6 separate regions of the Homo sapiens genome follow, and regions 1, 2, 3, 4 and 5 are each linked to region 6. Evidence: promoter capture Hi-C in 16 types of primary human blood cells and fetal thymus (Javierre and others, 2016). All regions are on one chromosome and are shown on one strand. The core of a region is centred on a gene start or on the middle of the fragment in contact, and the rest is flanking DNA. Distances in the headings are between cores, read along the strand shown. Region 1 overlaps SLC36A4 (solute carrier family 36 member 4). Region 2 overlaps CEP57 (centrosomal protein 57). Region 3 overlaps FAM76B (family with sequence similarity 76 member B). Region 4 overlaps LOC112268080 (ATP synthase subunit ATP5MJ, mitochondrial-like). Region 5 has its middle 36 kb from the start of JRKL. Region 6 holds the start of ANKRD49 (ankyrin repeat domain 49).

Evidence for each region. The method cuts DNA at HindIII sites, captures the fragments that hold promoters and counts their contacts. A CHiCAGO score of 5 or more calls a contact.
Region 1: a fragment that was not itself captured here is called in contact with the fragment with the promoter of ANKRD49 in region 6 in 2 of 17 cell types (total B cells and naive B cells); the score reaches 8.0 in total B cells.
Region 2: a contact is called between a fragment that was not itself captured here and the fragment with the promoter of ANKRD49 in region 6, in 4 of 17 cell types (naive CD8 T cells, neutrophils, total CD8 T cells and 1 more). The highest score is 9.4, in naive CD8 T cells.
Region 3: a contact is called between a fragment that was not itself captured here and the fragment with the promoter of ANKRD49 in region 6, in 1 of 17 cell types (fetal thymus). The highest score is 5.4, in fetal thymus.
Region 4: a contact is called between a fragment that was not itself captured here and the fragment with the promoter of ANKRD49 in region 6, in 4 of 17 cell types (total B cells, total CD4 T cells, non-activated CD4 T cells and 1 more). The highest score is 7.6, in total B cells.
Region 5: a fragment that was not itself captured here is called in contact with the fragment with the promoter of ANKRD49 in region 6 in 8 of 17 cell types (naive CD4 T cells, fetal thymus, naive B cells and 5 more); the score reaches 9.8 in naive CD4 T cells.

Annotation. Positions count from the first base shown.
Region 1 is chr11:93,186,540-93,190,014 of GRCh38, forward strand. All of the region lies in intron 1 of SLC36A4 (solute carrier family 36 member 4), which reads right to left. Among named protein-coding and RNA genes, the nearest start is that of SLC36A4, 9.7 kb to the right of the region's middle. The HindIII fragment of the contact is 5,393 bases long and covers 1-3,475 here.
Region 2 is chr11:95,796,688-95,800,115 of GRCh38, forward strand. CEP57 (centrosomal protein 57) reads left to right here. Exons shown (of 11, transcript NM_014679.5): 2 at 2,545-2,701. Among named protein-coding and RNA genes, the nearest start is that of CEP57, 7.9 kb to the left of the region's middle. The HindIII fragment of the contact is 3,381 bases long and covers 1-3,170 here.
Region 3 is chr11:95,772,989-95,776,560 of GRCh38, forward strand. It overlaps FAM76B (family with sequence similarity 76 member B), which reads right to left. Exons shown (of 10, transcript NM_144664.5): 9 at 2,934-3,035. Among named protein-coding and RNA genes, the nearest start is that of FAM76B, 15 kb to the right of the region's middle. The HindIII fragment of the contact is 4,010 bases long and covers 1-3,334 here.
Region 4 is chr11:93,217,992-93,221,810 of GRCh38, forward strand. It overlaps LOC112268080 (ATP synthase subunit ATP5MJ, mitochondrial-like), which reads right to left. Exons shown (of 1, transcript XM_024448785.2): 1 at 3,317-3,819. The coding sequence starts at 3,639. The coding sequence ends at 3,463. Among named protein-coding and RNA genes, the nearest start is that of SLC36A4, 22 kb to the left of the region's middle. The HindIII fragment of the contact is 2,880 bases long and covers 248-3,127 here.
Region 5 is chr11:96,423,698-96,427,454 of GRCh38, forward strand. No RefSeq gene overlaps it. Among named protein-coding and RNA genes, the nearest start is that of JRKL, 36 kb to the left of the region's middle. The HindIII fragment of the contact is 1,011 bases long and covers 1,321-2,331 here.
Region 6 is chr11:94,492,734-94,496,176 of GRCh38, forward strand. ANKRD49 (ankyrin repeat domain 49) reads left to right here and starts at 1,251. Exons shown (of 3, transcript NM_017704.3): 1 at 1,251-1,302. MRE11 (MRE11 double strand break repair nuclease) reads right to left here and starts at 1,111. Exons shown (of 20, transcript NM_005591.4): 1 at 1,058-1,111; 2 at 49-173. The coding sequence starts at 68. RefSeq lists an enhancer at 1,461-1,550. The HindIII fragment of the contact is 5,313 bases long and covers 1-3,123 here.

The DNA.
Region 1 (3,475 bases), core at 943-3,442, 1.3 Mb before region 6:
GTTTGACTGTTTTAAGTGGTACTCTCTGACTTCTACCTATTACCTATACAACAATTAATAATTTAATTCTAGTTTTTCCTGTCTCTGTTCCTTAGTTTCTCATGTTTAGTTGTATTCTTTCTACTTTGACAATACATATGATGTTTTTCATACTGTCCTTCAAATTATGTCTCTACTCATTTCTTAGACATGTATCTACAATCAATATCAATATCCACTATCAGTTCTCTGCCAAAGTTTCCTCAATCTTCCCTTGGCTGGAAGAAGTACATCTTCTTAAAAGGTATGCATCAGAATGGCCTGCAGGGCTTGCTAAAACACACAATAATGGACTCCATCCCAAAGTTTCCCACTCAGTAAGTCTGGGGTGGGCCTGAAAATATGCATTTCTAACAAGTTCCCCAGTGCTGCTGATGTTGCTGGTCTGGGGACCACACTTTGAGGACCACTGCTCTAACTGATTCCTCAGGAGGGTCTCATGGGCACAGTGTTCCCTGAGTTTTTACACGTTTCACACTGTTTTTCTTTATAGCCTGGATACTTGAGGAACAACTAGATATAAAATCCTTGGCTCACACTTTCATTCCTCGAGTTTCTTGAAAATGCTGTTCCACTTTTGCCTTGCTTTTATATGCTACTTTTGAGAAATCTGATGGCAGACTAATTTTCTCAGCCATTAAGTAACTTGTTCTTTTTCCTAGAGTTCCTGAAGATATTTTCTTTGTCTTTAAAGTCTAGTAACTTTACTACATGTCTTGGGGTTGACCATGCTAAGTCAGTTTTCCCAGGGCTACAGTGGGCCCCTTTTGATATGTTGATTTAGGTTTTTTCTTATTTCTACTATAAAGTTTTCTTGGATAATAGCTTTAAATATGTATTTGGTTCAAATACTTCTTCTTTAGATATTTCAATTACATGCATGTTGGGTCTTCTTTGCCTGTCTTCCATTCAACCACTTTATATCTCTGACCCTTCTGATGTCTGTCTTTACCTCATTCTCATTCATATCTGCCTTAAGTGACACATTAAATTTTCATTTCAATACATTCTCCCTTACATCTTGTAATTTATTTCTTATTTGTGATTTTTCCTATTTCTAAGTATTTCATACACAGGAATCCTAGTTCAAGAGTGTTCCCTCTGTCACTATAGTGAAGTTCAGTTTATTTCAAAGACAATGTTGAGCTGTTAGGGGTGAGCAAAAGCAGCTGGCATGTCTTCTAGTTCTCTTTCATTTCTGCAGGACCACCAATTTTCCCCATTACTTTGTTCTTTCCCTCCCTTGCCATCTGAGGGGCATCTCCACTGCTCTATTTATCTCTCACCTCCAGAAGCAATGTTTTGTCAAGGCTTCCCCCTTCAGTCCTGCTCAAATTCACATTCCTGTACTCAGTGCTATGAATTACTAACTTCTAGACCTGACCTCTGTTTAGACGTTTAACAGTTTAAATTAGACTTTCTCTTTCTGAAGGAGATTTTCATGGTGCTTGATCCAGTTTCCTGCTCCCCGCTCTTCTTTTCCAACGAAATACTAAAGACTCCCCTCCCCCACTCTCCATGCTTGTAGCAGCAACAAAAATTTTCTGTTTTTATACTTATAGATAATTTGAGGTTCATGGTATCCTTGATCTCCTCGCAATGCTAAAAGAGTAATTTCATGAATGGTTTACTTGTGCTTCAAGTTGAATTCACAGGTTTTAGGGGAGGATGTGTTGAGAGATCAGGATTTTAGCAGGCTCCATTAGCCCAGTGCCAACTGGAATTCAGCATATTCATTCTTAATAAGAGTAAAGTGATGCCTTAAGATACTGGAAGATGCTTGAAAACAGTCTATAAAATTATTTACATATTCTTCTTCTAATAACGTAACTAATATGTGTAGAGTAAAATTCACAGAATTATCAGTTCCAAATTCCTGAAGTCAAAACTGATGAGGATTTTCTATAATTCAAAGTTCCCAACTTTTCTTTTGGCTGGTTTTTCTAACCCTTTAATCTTTAGGACATTCTCCATACATTGTTTTGTAGGATTTCCTTGTTTCTTGTTTTCCAGTTTCAAAGGTGGCACGGTCTAGAACTATACACAGTAAAAATTGTTTCCCCAGTATTAGGTCTACTGGGATATCTACTATCTCACATTTACTCTAGAAATTTATTATGTTCACCTTCTGTTTGGATAAAGCCTATATCCTTTTCTGTTATACTCTATACAAAATACACTGGTACTCTTGTAAACCTATCACATTGGTTTCCTAGGGCTCTCATAATCAAGTACTACAAGAGAATTTATTGCCTCAAAGTTCTAGAGGCTATTAGTCTGAAAAAGTGCTGGGAGGGTTGGTTCCTTCTAAAGGCTGGGAGGGAAAGCTCTGTTCCAGGCAGGCCTCTCTCCTTGGTTTATGGACAGTCATCTTCAAGTTCACATGACATTCTCTCTGTAATCATGTCTGTGTTTAAATTTCCCCTTTTTATAAGGACACCAGTCATATTGGATTAGGGACCCTCCCTACTCCAGCAAAGCCTCACCTTTTTTTTTTTTTTAGACAAGAGTTTTGCTCTTGTTGACCAGGCTGGAGTACAATGGTGCGATCTTGGCTCACTGCAATCTCTGCCCCGCCAAGTTCAAGCAATTCTCCTGCCTCAGCCTCCAGAGTAGCTGGGATAACAGGTGTGCACCACCACGCCCAGCTAATTTTTGTATTTTTAGTAGAGACAGGGTTTCACCATGTTGGTCATGCTGGTCTCGAACTCCTAACCTCAGGTGCCTCAGCCTCCCAAAGTGCTGGGATTACAGGCATCAGCCACTGCTCCTGGCCATGGTCTCATCTTAACTAATTACAGCTACAATTACCCTATTTCTAAATAAGGTCACATCCTGAGGTATGCAAGGCTATGACAACATATAAATTGAGGGGTGGGGGGACTATTTAATCCATAACAACCATCATTATTAGTTGTATGAACTTCAGTTTCAACCATCAGTATGTTAATATTTTTATTCCTAAATGTACTCCACTGCCCTTGCTGACTAGAGTTCATTTGCTTTTATTCATTTAGCTTATCCAAATTATCAGTTATTTGACCTTTCTGATTTCTTTCTGTCAGGGAGTGTGCAGTATGTTCTGTGCTGTACTAAGCATACTATCTGTCCTCAATAAAGATAGTTATCACTACCAATATTTCAAAAACTGAACAATCTGTTATTTAAAGCACACTGCCCAAGAGATCACAGCAGTAAGGAAAGTACGGAAAATGGTAAGTTTTTTCATATCTTTAACAACAATATGAACTCTAAATGATGTTTATTTGTAATGGCATTATTGAAGAGTTTATTTTTAATATCATTTAAAATAAACCTGGAAATCTAGAATTGTTAAAATTACCTATAAATACTAGTTTTGTAATTCACAGAATTAAGTTTTTAAAAATAGTATTACAATGTTCAGAATCCGAAGTAAAAATTAGTTGGGACCTCC
Region 2 (3,428 bases), core at 230-2,729, 1.3 Mb after region 6:
CTGCCCAGATGTTGCTCAGACCCCCATACATTAAGGGGCTCCGTTTCACAAGACTGCCTGCCCCCAAGTCAGTCAGAGTTCGCAGAGCATCTGCATTTCTGCTCAGCTGACTACAAATTATGGGATTCCTGCAGCTTTCCAAGAACGGCTCACAGTACTCAGGAAAGACTGTTCTTAAGCAATTTCAGTTTTATAAAGGACACAACTCAGAAACAGCCAAATGGAGGAGACATAGGGCAAGGTGTGAAAGGGCTTCTGTATCCTCTGGTGCAGCACCTTCCCAGCATATCAGTATGTTCAACAATCTAGAAGCTCCCCAAACCTCATTATTCAAGAGTTTTCATTGAGCTTTCATTACATAAATACATAATTGAGTAAATTATTGTCCGCTGGTCACTGGGCTCAATCTGTCCCTTACCTCCCCTAAGGTCAGGGCCTAGGGCTGAAATTTGTGACTCTTCCCCCCCACCCCACCCCCCTCCCAACACACACACACACAGACGGAGTCTCACTCTCTTGCCTAGGCTGTAGTGCAGTGGCCCAATCTTGGCTCACCACAACCTCCACCTCCTGGGTTCAAGTGATTCTCCTGCCTTGGCTTCCTGAGTAGTTGGGATTACAGGGCACACCCCCACACTTGACTAATTTCTTTGTATTTTAGTTAGAGACAGAGTTTCACCATGTTGGCCAGGCTGGTCTCGAACTCCTGACCTCAAGTGATCCGCCCAGCTCGGCCTCCCAAAGTGCTGGGATTACAGGCATGAGCCACCATGCCTGGCTGAAATCTGTAGCTCTTTATAATCTAGTGGTTGGTTTTTCTGGCAACCAGCTTCCAGAAGATGCCTTCAAACCTGAAGCTACCTAGGTGCCCTACCTTGAGTCCCTTCATCAGCCTAACAAGGATACCCTATCACTTAAGAAATTCTAGGAGTTTTTGAATCTGTATCTGAAACCAAGGACAAAAGACTAAATATATTTTTTATTATACCACAGGGCATACAGATAATAAAAATGTATATGTCATGAGGAGTGATATAAAATAGTAAAGGGCAAGCCCACTAACATACAAAATGTAGAACAGAGGTAGTTCCATTTGGGGAACTAGTTTGTTAGTTAATCACATAGTTAATGGGATTCCCCTGACTGGGCAGAGGGTGGTCGGCAAGTCACTTAATATTTTTGAATATTAAATGATAGGATTCTGGTGGGTTGTAAATAACCAATGAAAACTTGAGGTTCTCTGTGACATTTAAAATTAAGCTATGCAGTAATTGAGGATGCTTTGCAAGACCTTTGACAATATTATAAAGAATTGAAAACTCATCCTATTTTCCAGTTACCTGTAAAACCAGATGCCAATTTGCCATTAAGTTTGGAAAATGACAAATACTAGTCTTTGTTATATATGAACATACTATAGTAGACTTAGCACTTATTTATTTGAGTACCACTTTTAAGACTTGGCCCTACCCTCCTAAGCTCTTTGTCCCCACTTTTGATTGTCATAGCCATAGTGTGTTTTATATTTATATAAATAGAAAATGTTTTATATTTGCTTTCTTAAATCACCTGGAAATTTGCATGATTTTTAACATGGAAGTAAAATCTTTAATTTTAAATAAGATTTAAATACAGTGCAGGTATTTCGATAGCCTTTGTTTCAGGAGATTGTTTACTGTTTTAAATATTCATTGTGCTCTTGTACTTTTATGAACACGGATTATTCTGGTAAATGTAAATCTTCAAAGGTAAGAATTGAAAAACATAGTTTGCTGTGGCCGTTTGAGGAAGGAAAGTGGATGAACATTTTGAATAGCTGGTAGTCATATCTTCCACCTTAGCCCTCAGCTTCTTAGTTACTTCCCCCAGTCTAGGACCATCTGTCAGTAGGAAGTCGCCTACAACAAATAAAACTCCACAGTTAGCATCTCCTGGGTTGAAATTATTATGTGGAATCCTAAATTTAACAGAATCTCATTCATGACAGAATGGTGTACTGTGGAAATAAAGTTTTATGTTTGAGTGTTTGATGGGCCTTAATGTTTTCTAATTATTTTCTTTTTTGTTAATTAAATGTAAAGTATTTGAGGCAAGGACAGTGCCTTATTTTCTTTCTGGAGTTTTGAATACTATAAATATTCAAGTAGTAGTTTGTGGATGGGGAATAGAGTAATTCAGTCATTTGTAGCAGTTTCTGGTCCTGTAAAAATAATGTTTTTATTTTTCTGAACGTATATTTCACAGTATATATTTTTAACTGCGGTATTTACATTCATTGTATCATTTAAGTATTTCTGCACAGCATTTGTATTCAAGTTGTATGAACATTATTTTCTTCTTGTGTCTGGCATATGGCTATATTCAGACTAATATGAAACACTTTAAAAGTTGTATTTCTTTAATGATTGAATTGTATTGTTTCTAGTCAGTGGATTTTTTCTGTTGTCTGTATGGACAGTCAATCTCAGTCATAAATATTTGTGATTTAAATCTGCTATTTGTGGTTCACACTTTTGAAAGGTAATTTGTGTCTTTATTTTTTAGAACAGCTTTGCTGAGCCATCAAGGTCTAATGGAAGCATGGTTCGGCATTCTTCATCTCCATATGTAGTATATCCTTCGGATAAGCCTTTCCTTAATAGTGATCTACGACGCTCCCCAAGTAAGCCTACACTTGCCTATCCAGAAAGCAACAGCAGAGGTAATCGAGCCTAACGAAATAAATGTTATTTGTGTTTTCTTGCTGCTTTAAAATTCTTAACTTTGTCCTCCATTATTTTGCCATTAGAGGAAAATATATTTCCCCTTTGCTTCCAGTTTCAGCCCCCAGAAAATATTATGCTTTTCTTGTATTCCTTATATTGATTGTTGAACATCATCATCCACCAAATTACTGATGCTAAAACACTTTGAGTCATCAGTGACTGCTCTGTAATCCCCACTATTAGTCCGGAATGAAGACCTTTTTTTGCTTCTGAAATATACCAAAAGCATACTGTTTTTTCTGCCTTTTTGTGTTCTCATTGCTTTGGTTCAGGCTTTCATCATCTGTAGCCCAGATGTTCATAGTACATTCCTCATTAATCTCCCTGCCTGTTTTCTCCTCCTCATCCCCAGTTAACAACATTTCTGTCATTTGTCATTATCCATCATCTCTCCCACAAAATTAAAGCTTTAGCATCTCTTCATAGCTTACATAATAAATTCTTAATTTTTCATAACCTAGACCCTATATGCCTCACCAGCTTCATCCCTAACTTGTCTTCTGTTTTTTCCTTTCCCATCCTTTGCTCTGGCTACTTTGAAATACATTTATTCCTGGAACCTGCCATCTGTATTAGTTTTCTTGTCGCCTTAACAAATTGCCATGAACTTAGCTTTAAATATTTGTTATCTCAGTTTTCTGTAGGTCGGAAATCTGTGTAGGC
Region 3 (3,572 bases), core at 80-2,579, 1.3 Mb after region 6:
TCAAATTCAGTATCAATTTCAAATTTTGAGTCTGCAAATTTGACTCAAAAAGATCTCCACTAGATCTGTTAAGTTATATTTATCTAAAAATGTTTATACTGATACAAAATAGTTAAAATGTGAATCTCCAAGTTCTTATCTCAATTATCAAGAAATAAAGTGTTTATAATTTTCATATTTTAAGTACAAAATACAATAATTTGAACATTAGGTCTTCAAAGCAATTTTTCCATTTAATGCTTTGGTAGCTAATTTCCAATTTGCTTTTAATATATTTATATCACTAATAAAGATATTTCTTAATAAATTACATAAGACAAAAGTCTTTATGGTAAATAAATAACACAATTGTTAAGTACAAGTCCAAATTATTCTAATTTGAATACTTTAAAAATGAATTTTATGCCATATTTCAATATATGTACATTTAAATTGTTTTATCCTAAAATTACTTCATTTTGCAGCCAGCCAAAAAAAAAAAAAAAAATCAATGAAATTCTTTACAGACTCTTAAGAAAGCTAAGTTTTAAAGTTTAGACATGTTGGTGCAAAGGAAAGAATATCAGGATTAAGAATTACATAGATCCTGCTTTAAATCCTGGCTTACTTACCAGCTACATAACCTGGAGCATATTTTCTCATTTGTAACACAAACTCCACCATCCGAACTCAAAATGAGTTGAAGGAACTTATCAAATATATAAAACACTTAGCCTAACACAGTTCCTGGTACACAGAAGGCACTCAAATGTTAGGTCCCTTTTCCTTTTAACCACTTACCTAATTAAGTGAATAAGAGTTTTAACTTGATATTCTTAGTATTTTCAATATTTGGGGTATTTTGGGGTGACATTTTGAACAATTTTTTCATGTGATGTTCAGTGTTTTGTCGTAGGTTTGGCAGTTAAAAATATTTTACTAGCTATTAGAGCAAGATCCATCTTGTGTCACAGGATTCAATTCCTTATTACATAAAGATAAAAAAAAAATTACCGGTTTCCTCACCTCAGTAAAGAATCCTACTAGTATCACTTGGTTGCTAAAGGAAGTGAGGTAAAAAGATGGCACTCAGCTATGACAGATTGTCTCTAGCCATAACACAAAAAAATCAGGGAAGTGGCCTGATAGGAAGGATGAAATAGAAAACCTGAGGAACCTGAAGTGGTGGGAACTAGTGTAGGACAGGGAAAAGTATAGATAAACTGGAGTGAGAAGACAGAGATTTCTACGTCACCGCTTACTGTGTGATCACAGTTTCCTCTGTAAAATGGGCATATCACATAACCCAGTTTTTGCAACAAGTAAGACAGCATATGTAAAATCATGTCAAAATGTCCTATTTAAATATTGGTTACTTTTATACTACATGAAACTTCAATTACCAAGAGGAGGTAGGCCTAAGATATCTATCAGGCTAAGTCAAAGATGACCCCATGTATTTGCAACTATGATTTTAAAAAAGAAAAACCAACACACAAACTGCTCTTTTGAACAGTGGGGAGCACTAAGTTAAAACATATCTGAGCACCTATTGCAGTTATTCTGTTATCTCATTCTGGATTTACTTCAGAGCTTTGGTTACATTACATTAAATCAAAGATCACCAGGTGGAAGATTTTGTTCCAGGTAATCATTCAGCATTAATAACTGAGTAAGAAAAACAGGAATAACATAAAATTAAAAATAATACTTGCTGGTGGATAAAAACATTGACTAATATATAAGAATCTGATATATGATACGGGCAATCTCTCAGAACAGAGGGCTGATGGGCATTTCCATAAATCACCACCTAGTCAACAAATTATTTGAATGCCTACTATGTCTCAGGTTCTACATGAGGTTCCTTTTTCAACAGTCTTTGTAATAGTATGATAGGGATTAAGACCAGATAATCTGTACCTCGAATTTGAGCAAGTTCCTAAATCCTACTAATTTAAGCTACTTGCAAAGAAGTATGAATAATACAAAACCAAAAGAAAGAAATAGCAAATATCCTTTGGTGTTACAATGTGAAAAAAAAAAAACAAAATGAAACAGGACAGTATTAACTCCTTCCTTCTGAAGCTGTACTCTCCCAAGTCTGACGTCTGTGTGCTGCCATCTTCCATTAACATTTAAAACTTCTTTCACCTTAAAAATTTTGTTACTAAAGACTAATTTTACAAATGTGAGACTGTATAAATCAAAGAGAACATGTAATTAATTTAGTGTGGTCTGATTTCTAAATGTATGAAACCTAGAAGAGAAGCAGCTTAATATGGTAGCATTCTGTATCCATGTTGGATGTTCACCATCTCTGCATGCCAGACATCAGATTATTACTGTGGTGACTCTTGACTTTACCATTCAGTTGTTCTGTATACTTAAACTGCTACTTTGCAGTACTCTGAGGTTCAGGTGGATCACTACCTGTTAGCATTTAGCAGAACCCTATTTGGCACTTTGCGAACCACTGTACACAGGTTAAGTAAACTCTCTTGCTTTGCACACATTTTTGCCACTCCAGGTCCTTAAGAATTGGTTTTATACACCCATCTCCTTTCCCATTATCTGGAAGGAAATATTAATGTGAGGAATGATTGCTACTGAAGACCTGCTTTTCACCTTAGTTTCATTAATCTGATTTTTAATTTTTTGCTATAAGCCCAATAATTAATTGAACACACTCCAATGATACCCTCCTCCAAAAACTCCATTTGAAGTTTAGGCAAAAGTTTTCAAGATTAAAGTACTGAATCCCCCTTTCAAGTAATTTCAAACAATAACTTCTAATGAGATCAAGATTAAAAATGATTATAAAGTCAAAATCAAAACTGAAATGCACCAACTATGCACAAAATAGGGCTACCAATAACAATCTAAGTCAATGAATGCTATTACTCAAGTTTAGCCCTTCTTGCCTATCATTTTACGTAAATGATGGTAGTTACCTGAAGTTGTTCCACAGTTTCTTTGTGGGCTTTTTCCATACTGTTCATTTTTGTTCTCAAATTTGACTCTTGGTACTGAAAGTCTGCCTTTAGTTCAGTTAACTGAGAGATTAAAGAAAAAATATATGTATATATTTGCACACATACACACACACACCATTTTAAATAACTTTCACAATAAACTCACATTTCATTACAAAAGTAGAAGATGTTAACTGCAGTTTCCTGAATTGTACAAGCTATCTAAAGTTTGTTTGGTGAAATGATGAAGTCTATCTGCTTCACAATAGTATAATTTTAATGTTAATACCTGACCATCAGTAAAACTTCTCAGTTTTCTTTTTTTCCTAAACATGGCTCGACTGGAAATAGAGTTTGGCAACTGGTATGCCAACGAAAAAAGCTTAACGGCTAATAACTGGGAAAATGCCTCATTTAAAAATGTACTTCAATAATAGTAAAAACAATATAAACATTTAAACTAGCTTATGCGTAAAATAATCTTTCAATGCTTAAAGAAAGAAATTTCACACTGGGTAATATAAAAAGGAATGGTCTTTTCAGCCAAAAGCTACACTGTTTTCATTTTTTAATTTATGTCCAGGATTATGTACACAATACCACCTAACACTTGAGGTA
Region 4 (3,819 bases), core at 438-2,937, 1.3 Mb before region 6:
TGTCATGATTAAATCTGAGTTTTAAAAGACTTAAGCAGCCATGTAGAGGATGACTGGGTAGGGCACAGCCAGATAGTTGGGCACTGAGTTAGTAAACCCCTGCAGCAGGAAGGGAAATGTAAGGAGACTTGACGGGGGGTGCCTGTGGGCGTGTTCTGCTGAGGTGAATGTGTGTCAGGGTCAGAATCAGCAGGGCCTGTGCATTGACCAGATGTGAAGAGGGAATAAGAGATGACTCTGCTATTTAAGCTTATGCTGGGAGGATGGTACTGTTATTGATTGAGATTAGAAAGATAGAAAAAGGATCATATTTGAGGGCAAAAATAATGAGTCTAGTTTTAAGCATATTAAATTTGAGATGGTAATAGGTGATCTTAGGTGAGTTGAATCAGAAATATACATTTAGATAACCAGAAATGTACATCTAGAACTTGGATGTCTTGTTGCTTGACTATGCCAATAGAATATGACCATATATATAGTCATGTTCTCTAGACTATGTCTTCAAAATATTCTGAATTGAGGTGGAGTGTCTGGCTCATTCAAATTTTGTTTTGTTGATTTGAATAAGTGAGAATGTAAAAAAGATTCTCACAAATAATATTTTAGGAAGGGCCGGGCGATGGCTCATGCCTGTGATTCTAGCACTTTGGGAAGCCGAGGCAGGCGGATCACCTGAGATCAGGAGTTCAAGGCCAGCCTGGCCAACATGGTGAAACCCTGTCTCTACTAAAAAATATAAAAATTAGCTGGGCATGGTGGCATACACCTGTAATCCCAGCTACTCAGGAGGTTGAGACAGGAGAACCACTTGAACCCGGGAGGTGGAGCCTGCAGTGAGCCAAGATCATGCCACTGCACTCCAGCCTGGGTGACAGAGTGAGACTGTCTCAAAGCAAAACAAAAAAATTTTTAAAACATTTTAGGAAGCAAAACAAAAAAAATTTTAAAACATTTTAGGAAGTCTTTCATTCAAGGGTGAGGGAAAGAAGAGGAGTGACAGTGGGGCCTGAGAAAATGCTGCAGGACAAGGAGCCACAAGAATGCACAGGCAGCAAAGACACAGAAAAACAATTTCAGCAGGGAAGGGGATTCTTCAGTGTTCAATGCTTCTGAATTGTTAAAAAGGGTAAGAGAATTAACTGGTTAAGAATTAACCGGTTAATTAGGTTGTAAAGGGTAGAAGCTGACTGTCACTAGCTTAGACAGAAAGAAAAAAAGGAATTTAACGGCAGTGCCTAAAGGAGGATTCTAGGAGAGCTCACAGAGAGTCAGCGGAGGAGATGAACAACCAAGGTTCGGGAAGGGTAGGAACCAGGGCAGCTCTGGGGGCCTCCTAGGAATCTATGACCCCTCTCCCAGGTGGTGCAGCCATTAATACAACTCTGCTCCAGAAAATTCTGCACCTCTCCAGTCCATGCTCCATATCCTACGAGAGGGAAGTAACCTAGCTTGAGTGTGTGTCCCTATTTTAACTATGGCCAGGGAAAATGTCAGCAAAGCAAGGCATTCACTCCTTTCGGGGGCTAGCACTAGACCCCAGGGAGAAGAGGTCACTGAAGGTTAGCTCTACTCCAAGAAGCAAGTTCCACTGGAGTGTGGAACTTGTAGGAACCAGTTTGCAAGGTGTGTTCATACATGCAAGAGGGCAATGATGCATGACAGTGCTGTTTCCAGTCCCTCGACCATGAAAGGAAAGTAGCCTGAGAGTTGCAGACTTGAGGGCAGGGTTTTGGGGGCAGTGGAGACTTGACTATATTTGTAGACTGAAGCTGGATCCAGTGGAGTAATAAATTAACATACAAGAAATAAAGGAGGTAATTAATGGCACAGAGACCTAGGTGATGACCAAAGACTTCAGTCAACAATATACTGAATAGAAGGGATCCTGAGGAACTTCATGGAATTACCTATGTATTATATACAAGATAAGAGGAATGTCAAAAAGCAGGGAGATTGGATAGTTGCTCTCTGTATATAGGGGTGTCAGTGAAGTGGTCAGAAGAACTTGAGATGCTTGCACAAGGAGAAACAGTGAAATCAACAGGCTACAAAATCAAAGCAGAGATACACAAAAACTCTTTAGAGATGAAAAACTGGCCTGTGGGCTTGCAAAAGTTTGCTATAACCAAGGTAGATATATTAACTTGACTAAGCAAATAATACATACATTAAAAAGTGATTTTTGTGACTTGGGCACAGAAAAAGCAGGAAAAGTCACTGAAGCCAATGTTAGTAATTTCCATCTTAGCACTGTCCTAGAGAGGCTGTGACCTGGCCAGTATTTCCAGTTCTGTGGGCCAGAAACTTTCTTACCCTGAAGCCATTAAACAGTCAACTTTCTTAGCTTGTATTCTGCATTCAGGACAACCTTCCTCTTGATTATGGTTAAGCTAATCTCTTAAGGAAGACTGTGTTTGTCAGATAAACCTATGCAGTAATTTCTTCTGAAGGAATAAATTAATGGTTTCTGATTTTGATTGGACTTTTCATGGCACTTGGCACTGATCATAAGGACTCCAGAATTCTTATAGTAATTTATTATTGAAAATTAATAAACTGATGCCATGGTTGGAGCAGACACTGCTAATTGCCTATCCAATATCTGTGTTTAGTAACACACTATCACCAGTGGCCCATACATGGCCCTCTTTTATTGATTGATTGTATTAAATTATTGAAAAATAAAAACAATAAAAATTTAAAACTACAAATAACAGATACACTGGTTTGTATTCACTCTTGTAAGTTTGATTATTGTGCAGAACTAACACCTGAGATAAGTGTTTCTTCCTATGGATGAATAAAATTACAGTTCCTGGCCTGCATGGGTAATTTCAGGTCATGATGCTACCTTGGGAGGCCTGTGAGAGGTCATTAGTGGTCTCTTCCTGGTATATGTGCCCTTGGCATCATTGTTTGTTCTCTAGCCACTGTAGAAGAATGCTGATCTTTCTATACTGGCCATTTGGATCAAAGGAAATTGTTGGTGGAACAAACACAACTTGCACAACTTTTATTCCCAGTAAAGAAATTCATTTTTTGACTTTTGTTCACCGGCTTCTATACTAGAGGAAATTAGTTGATTAGCTTTCAAAGGTGCAAAAACTAAAAATAAGTGATAGTAAGCTTTAACTATGTGCCATGTAAGAACTCTGTATCTATGTGCATTATCTCATTGAAGCCACAATAACTGTCCAGCATCTAGTAAGAATAAAATCCCAGTGCCTCAGCCATGTCTCTGTCCTGTGTACTAAATCTTTTGAGTTTACCCAGCAATGACCTCTGTTTCCACCGTACTCCCGATCTTGATCTCTCTTTTTTTTTTCAGTGAATTTCACAGATCCATTTATTCATGCCATGAAGTAAGCGATACTTAAACAAGTGTACAGTCTAACACAGCTTACTTAAATTTACAAGCTGACTGATGTTTCATTTCATGTGTACTCCAGGTAAAGCTGGTTAGTGATGACTGTGAGCAGGCACCGGAGATTTCAAAGCTTTACTTCTTTTATTAGCACTCTGGATTTTATAAATGATGAGGCTCATCAGCCCCATTCCTACCCAAATATCCTGGTAAACTTGAGTATAGTAGAGCTTCATGGGGATCCACACATTTTTAATAATACTTTGAAGCATCTATACCTTTTGCCCACACCTGCCTGTACCTTGCCTCGTGCTCTGTGCACAGCAGCGCCATAGCCCAGGGCGTGTCCCCCTCGGCTGTAATTACTTGATGCTTCCATGTCCTCCTGGGCTATAATTACTCCCACTTGTCACAGCATTCTGGGTGATGACTCAGCCAGGTTCAGGCCAGAG
Region 5 (3,757 bases), core at 576-3,075, 1.9 Mb after region 6:
ACATTTAAAAGATATATGCCTAAGACTAGGTGGGATGGACTATGTTAACATAAGACATAATTCTTATGGAATTTATGGCCATAACTGCATCTTTAATATTAGGGAGATGTTTACTAGAGTTTTCCCATCCAATCATAGAATCTTGGATCCAGTAGGTAATGCAAATGTCTTGTGATAAAAACTTTTAAAATGTAGTAAATTACCTTGGATGACTAAACTATCTAGATGGATGGACCTTATTCTGAATTTTCTTTGAAACTAGCAGTATTCTAATAGAGTTTCAATTAATTTAATAAGGCTACTTTGACTAATAGCCATTAAAAGGTAGTATAAAATGTGACATTCCTTTTTTAAAAATTAATAGCCCTTACTTTTAGAGCACTTTTGGGTTTATAGAAAAATTATACAGATCATACAGAGAGTTCTCATATACCCCCTCTTCCATATTCCTCCCCACAATTTACCTAATTATTAACATCTCGGTGTGGCATATGTGTTATAATTAATCAATATTGTTACATTATTATTAACTAAGGGTCATGATTTACATGAGGATTCACTCTTTGTATTGTATAGTTTTATGAATTTTGACAAATACATAATGTCATGCATCTATCATTAGAGTATCATACACAATGGTTTCACTTGCTTAAAAATCCTTTTCACACCATCTCTTCATCATTCCCTACGTCCCTTTCTTTCTCCCCCTTGAGTCTCTGGTTTTAAGAGTTATTGTTATATTTTGGATAACAGTCCTTTATTAGATATGTGTTTTGCAAATATTTTCTCCCAGTCTGTGTCTTCTTGTTTCCTTTTATTAACAGTGTCTTTTGCAGAGTAAAAGTACTTATTTATTTATTTATTTATTGAGACAGAGTCTAGCTCTGTCACCCAGGCTGGAGTGCAGTGGTGCCATCTTTGATCACTTCAGCCTCCACCTCCTGGGTTCAAGTGATTCTTGTGTCTCAGAGTCCTGAGTAGCTGGGACTACAGGCATGTGGCACCATGCCTGGCTAATTTTTATATTTTTAGTACAGATGGTGTTTCACCATATTGGTCAGGCTGGTCTTGAGCTCCTGACCTCAAGTGATCTGCCTGCCTTGGCTTCCCAAAGTGCTGAGATTACAGGCATGAGCCACTACACCCGACAGAAGCTTTTAATTTTAATGAAGTCCAACTTACTACTTTTTTCTTTCATGAGTCATACGTTTGGTATTTTATCTAAAAAGTCATCACCAAACCCAGGGTGACTTAGATTTTCTACAATGTTGTTGTTTTTTTTTTTTTTCTAGAGGTTGTATTGCTTTAATTTTACAATTAAGCTTATGAAACCATTTGAGTTAATTTTTATGAAGGGTGTAAAGTCTGTGTCTAGCTTCTTTTTTTTTTTTTGCATGTAGATGTTCCATTGTTCCAGCATCATTTGTTGAAAATATTCTTCTTTCTCAATTGAATTGCCTTTGTTCCTTTGTCAAAGATCAGTTGAGTATACTTGTGTGGGTCTATTTCTGAGCTCTCTATTCATTGATCTATCTGTTTATTCTTTTTCCACCACCACATTGTTCTGATCATTATAGCTTTATAGTAAATCTCCAAGTCATGTGGTGTCAGTTCTCTGACTTCATTCTTCCACTTCAGCATTGCACTAACTAATCTGGCTCTATTGCCTTTTCATGTAAACTTTAGAATCTCTTAATAATCAATTCTCAAAATAACTTGCTGGGATTTTGGTTGAGATTTTCTTGACACTTTAGATCAAGCTGGGAAGAACTGATATCTTGAAAATATTGAGTCTTCCTATCCATGAGCATGGAATAACTCCATTTATTTAAATCTTCTTTCATCAGAGTTTTGTAGTTTTGCTATTACAGATTTGTATATATTTTGTTAGGTTTATGCCTAAGTATTTCTTCTCTCACTCTTCAGTGTTAATGTAAATGTTGTTGCGTTTCTAGATTCAAATTTCAGTTGTTCATTGCTGGTATAGGAAAGTAATTGACTTTTGTATATTAACCTTGTATCCTGAAACCTTCTATAATCACTTATTAGTTCCTGTAGTTTTTTTGTGTGTTGATTCTTTGGAATTTTCTACCTAAACATTCATGTCATCCATGGGCAAAGACAGTTTTATTTATTCTACTCAATCTTATGCCTTTTATTTCTTTATCTTGTCCTGTTTTATCAGCTAGGATTTTCAGTGTAATGTTGAATAGGAGTGAAAGAACATAGTTACTTTTTTAAAAGAAAATATTTTATGAATTTGATAGTAGAATTAGGCAATTTAATCCCATGTTAAATAAGAATATAAAATTTTGATTAGTAGGGTAGCCAAGCTTCTTATAAAATAATAAATTGCTGAGAAAACCAATTTAAATTCCCCTGGAAACAGCGATTTCTGACTGACGTAATGGATCAAAAGGAGATTTTCTTTTAAGTCAGTGTCCAGGGAGTATGTAAAACAATTGAATAAGGAACCCCTCTTATATTAAATACAAAGCACCCAGAGGAATAAAAAAATCAATAAACATACACACATACATGCAAGACACACCAGGGAGCATATAAAACATATAAAATATTCTCATTTCCTAATTCAATTTGATAATAACAACTAATTTTAAAAATCAGACCTTTAGTGACTATTATGGAGAGACATAGTGGGTGAAAGGAAAGAAATTTTTTAGCATCATTATAGACTACCAGATACCTTTGCTGTATTAAGATTTTTTTAAATGGAAAAACAGAAGAGATAAGGAAGAATAGAAACAAAGGATGACACAGTCACATGTTCACAAGACAAAGAAACGCAAACACACATACTCACTTCATACTGGAGTTGCAAATGTGAACTAGCACAGCTAAAAGGGAGAGACAATTACAGGGACTCACAAAATTACTATGTAGGAGGCTTTCATGTGGATGAAGAGACAGGATAACAAGCACCTGCGGAATAAAACACACACACACACGCACACACACACACACGCCCACCATGAAGCTCCGTTCAAAATTCAAATGCATATAATCTGCAGAAAAACAAAGATACACTCATTTTAAAGCGTGTATCCCTGACACATTTTAAAGTGGATATCCCTGTTTCCATTTTGTTTTATAGATGGTTTGATTCTAACTTCATTTGGAAACATAGATGATCTGAAATCTTAATTTTTGAGAAAGAAAACCCAAATTTAGTCTTCAGGAGAGTTTTAAATATCTTGAAACAAAACAGGGGTTGGGATGCGGGAGCAGGGCAATGGGGACATTTAAGATGGAGTAACATCCCCATCTTGTGGTATATCAGAATATTGACTCTTCTTTTTAACACTATTTTGATTTAACATAGTTTTGGGTAAAAACATATCTAACTTGATTATGGGAACACGAGAGAGTAGTGACACAGGAAATTGAATCTGCAATTTCTCAACCCATTAAATTGTTCATCAATGCTGAACTAATACAAGAGTTACATTAATAAGCGGCAGGTTTAATTACTTAGCAGATGGCTGTTCAGTGTTCACCTTAATGTTATCAGACTCAGCAAAAACAAAGAGATGACCCGCATTTGTATCTATCTGTTCTACAATATATTGTCTAGAGGTTTCATTTTTTATTTTATTTTATTATTATTATTTTTGAGACTGAGTCTCGCTCTGTCGCCCAGGCTGGAGTGCAGTGGCGCGATCTGGACTCACTGCAAGCTCCACCTCCTGGGTTCAGGTCATTCTCCTGCCTCAGCCTCCCGAGTAGCTGGGAAGCG
Region 6 (3,443 bases), core at 1-2,500:
GCTTTAGAAACCCCAAATAACAAGGGATTCCAGAAGTCAGGTGCTTACAGTGCATCTGCAGTACTCATTTTTATGGTCAGTCAAGCTCCTCTGGGACCAGGTTCTTCTCCAAGAACCCCTGGGTACTGTACTCAAATGTCAGAAAATGCACTCGATTCCAAATTCTAGAAATTCTAAAAACAAAATTACATCATAAAACACATTTTTTAAAAGCCTGCACGTATTTAACCAACATGATTTACGCTGCACAAGGTACAGACGTCTTAATTAGACTGGCAAATTTAGAAGTCTCATTTTCATCTAAGCACCCACTATACTTTTTTTTAATGAACTGAGCATAGAAAATAATATATCTCCAGTGTACATCCTGTTTCCTAGTTTCACCAAGATGATTAAACTCCTATTTTCCTTTCCCGTGCTCTTATGGGAAATTAATGTATGCTAAATAAATGGGCAGAAAGGGTCACATACGGTTCTGGTTCAACACACAAACAACTCTAGATGTGCAGATATTTTTAAGTTGCACGCATAGGTTACTCTGGAGAACAGAGGCAATCCTGTATTTCCTATTCAAACCCCACGATTTTTTTTAAAGGACCTGGCTAGTTTGGAAAAGGGAACGGGCCCGCGTTTAAAGCGAGTGTAAATAAACAAACACGTGGTCTGCGGAGGAACACCTTTAAGCACCAGCAGGATGACTGAAAATAGCCAGGTTTGGGGAAGAGTGGCTGCCACCGCGAGACAACCCCCACCACATCTGGAGCTCCAGATTCCGTCGGGATTCCAAGCCTCAACACGCCCTCACCGCAGGGAACCTCGGAATCAGAACGCTGAGCCCGCCAGGACCCCTCCCCTGCCCACTCGGCCCGCTCTTCCCGAGGTTCCAGTTAACTCTGGGCTTCCGCCTGGGAACCTGCAGAAACAGGAGACGAATGCGATTCCTAAATTACCCCACTGCTGGACTCTTCGAAGCCCCACAATCGCGACCCAAGGCTGTCTTCTTTTCGGGAAGAAAGGGCAGGATCCGTGAAAAGAAAACAACACGGTCTGAACTTGCCTCTGAGAACCCGCAGGGCCGTAAACCTGAATTCCGCGGGAGAGAACGGCGTCCGTTTCTCTCGCGACACTTCATGGATAACGTAGATGCTTCAAGTCCAGTTCGGCTCTCATTGGCTACCGCACGCAGTGAGGGGGCGGGGAAAGTAGCGGCGAGGCCCCGCCCTCACGCAGGAGCCAATCCTGAGCAGGCTAGGAGACGAACCCGGAAGTGAGATGCAAGGCGGCGATTTTCCCTTCTGTCAGGTGGGTTGTTATTCCCTGTCCCGGACCTCGCTTTTTGATGGACCGGCGCCATCTAAGAACTCCTGAGCCCGTGGGGGTGGGTAGCCTGTGGACACAGGCCGAGCCCTGCAGGTCAGGCCGCTTCGTGGTCCCCAGGTAGGACCGAAGCCGCTTCTCCGCTCTTGGCTGTTTGGAAGGCCGCAGGCGGAGCTCACGGGCCTGTGAGCTCCCGGCTGGTGGCAGAGTGCCGGAGCTGGATCCCCTCTCCCTCCCTCCCAGTCGCCAGACCCTCTACAGGTGTCGCCCCTAGGTCCTTGAGTTCAGCACATCTGCACTGCTTTGTGCTGAGAGCAGTAAGATGTATAGTGCAGCGAAAAATAATGTAGAACTTTTGAATTAGAACGTCTGCCCTTTCAGTTCCATTGAAGGGTCCTTGATCTAGGGCAAGTTGTTTTAATCTATCTGAACCTCCTTCACCAGTAAGGTTTATAGCCCCGCCTATCACTGAGTTGTTTGTAAGGAGTTGACATAGTTCGGATCTCTCTCAAAATAGGATATGCCCTTTAAGTTAGGAAACATACCCTGACATTCCTGATGGAATATCAGGAATATCATCATCAAGTCATCAGTTTTGTTTCTTAACTGTAAGTCGGGTAGATGCGCCTAGGCTTGGCTTTTTAAACTAAATATACCAGTAAAATTTTGTACATAATTTTTTGTATCTGGATCTGTAAACTCAAAATTTATATAAAGGGAGTTTTTATTGAAAGGAAAAGCATGTTGGGGGAGAGGGTAAGATCTGTGGTATAAGGTTACTATATTTGATATAATTACAAGTGAACTTTTATTTATTAGCATCTGTTAAGTGTTTAATGAATTGATGTATGGTCATTTTTGTGTTGCAAGGTTCAGGAATTAGTTTGAGAATCAAAGAAAAAGTGGAAGCTCCAGGAGAATTAATAAAACACAGAGCAATTCTGATTGGATATCTCTGATTCCAAGGGTGTCTCTGATTGGGTGACTGAAAAGCCGGATTGGCCTTAGGAATACTTTAGTAAAATTCTTACATTTTACAATAAAGTAACAGGACCAGAAAAGTTACTGGACATGAGTAATACATTTAAACTTGAGTTTAGTGCTATTGCCACTAGTAATAAAGTTTAATACCACATTAAGATTGTATACTGTTAAACTTGTGAGATTAGGTATCAAGAAATCAGTATCTTGGGGTTATGCCTAACTCTGGAACTTCTCAGAATCCATTCCAGGCAAAATCAAGTGACAAGACTTTAATTAAATGTAATGCTACACATACTTCTTAATGCCTTCTATAGACAAGTAGGAGATAAATATAAGTTAAATGTGGTCCTTATCTTTCAGCTTATAATCTTTTAAGGGGCTAAAACAAGAACAAAGTTAGAGGTGAAATGTAGCACCAAAAAAAGTAGAAAGCAGAAAGCGATCTAAATGAGAGGATCAAGAAAGAATGAAAGAGATAACATCAGAGAAGAGCCTTGAAAGACTGATTATATTTCAACAAATAGAGTTGAGAGGCTGGGAATTCGTATTTGTAAATTATCTATTGGTTATTCTCCTTTTCTTTAATTGATTAAGGTTTATATGTTGTGTAACCCTTTAAGCTGATATTGGTTTAAAAATTAATATGGCAGCTTAGCAGAATAAACATCAGTTCCTTCAGGAAGCCTTCTTTAATCCCTTAGGACTAGGGGAATTATGAACCTCCTGTATACTCATGGTTTCTAGACAAGGTCTTGTAGTAGTACTTATCATGTTGTCTTTGCCAGACACATGATGTCTTTGCCAGTCACCTACACTAGAGTAAGCTTCCTGAGGTGAAGACATGGATCTTGCTCATTATTGAATCCCAGTACCCAGAAGTTGGCACATACCAGACATTCTATTCATATTAGTTGAATGAAGGAATGAATGACAGCCAAAATTCAGTTGAAAACAAGGACCCAACTAAGAACTATAGTTGCCTATCAATAAACAGGACTACTTTTTAAAGCAGTGAATTTTCCTAGGCCTGAAATTATCAAAGTAGAAATAGGATAATTAGTGTAGATGCTGTGATAAAGATATATGTACCGATGACAGATTGGAACAGATGTCCTTTTGGGGGCTATTCCATCTTCAAGAAT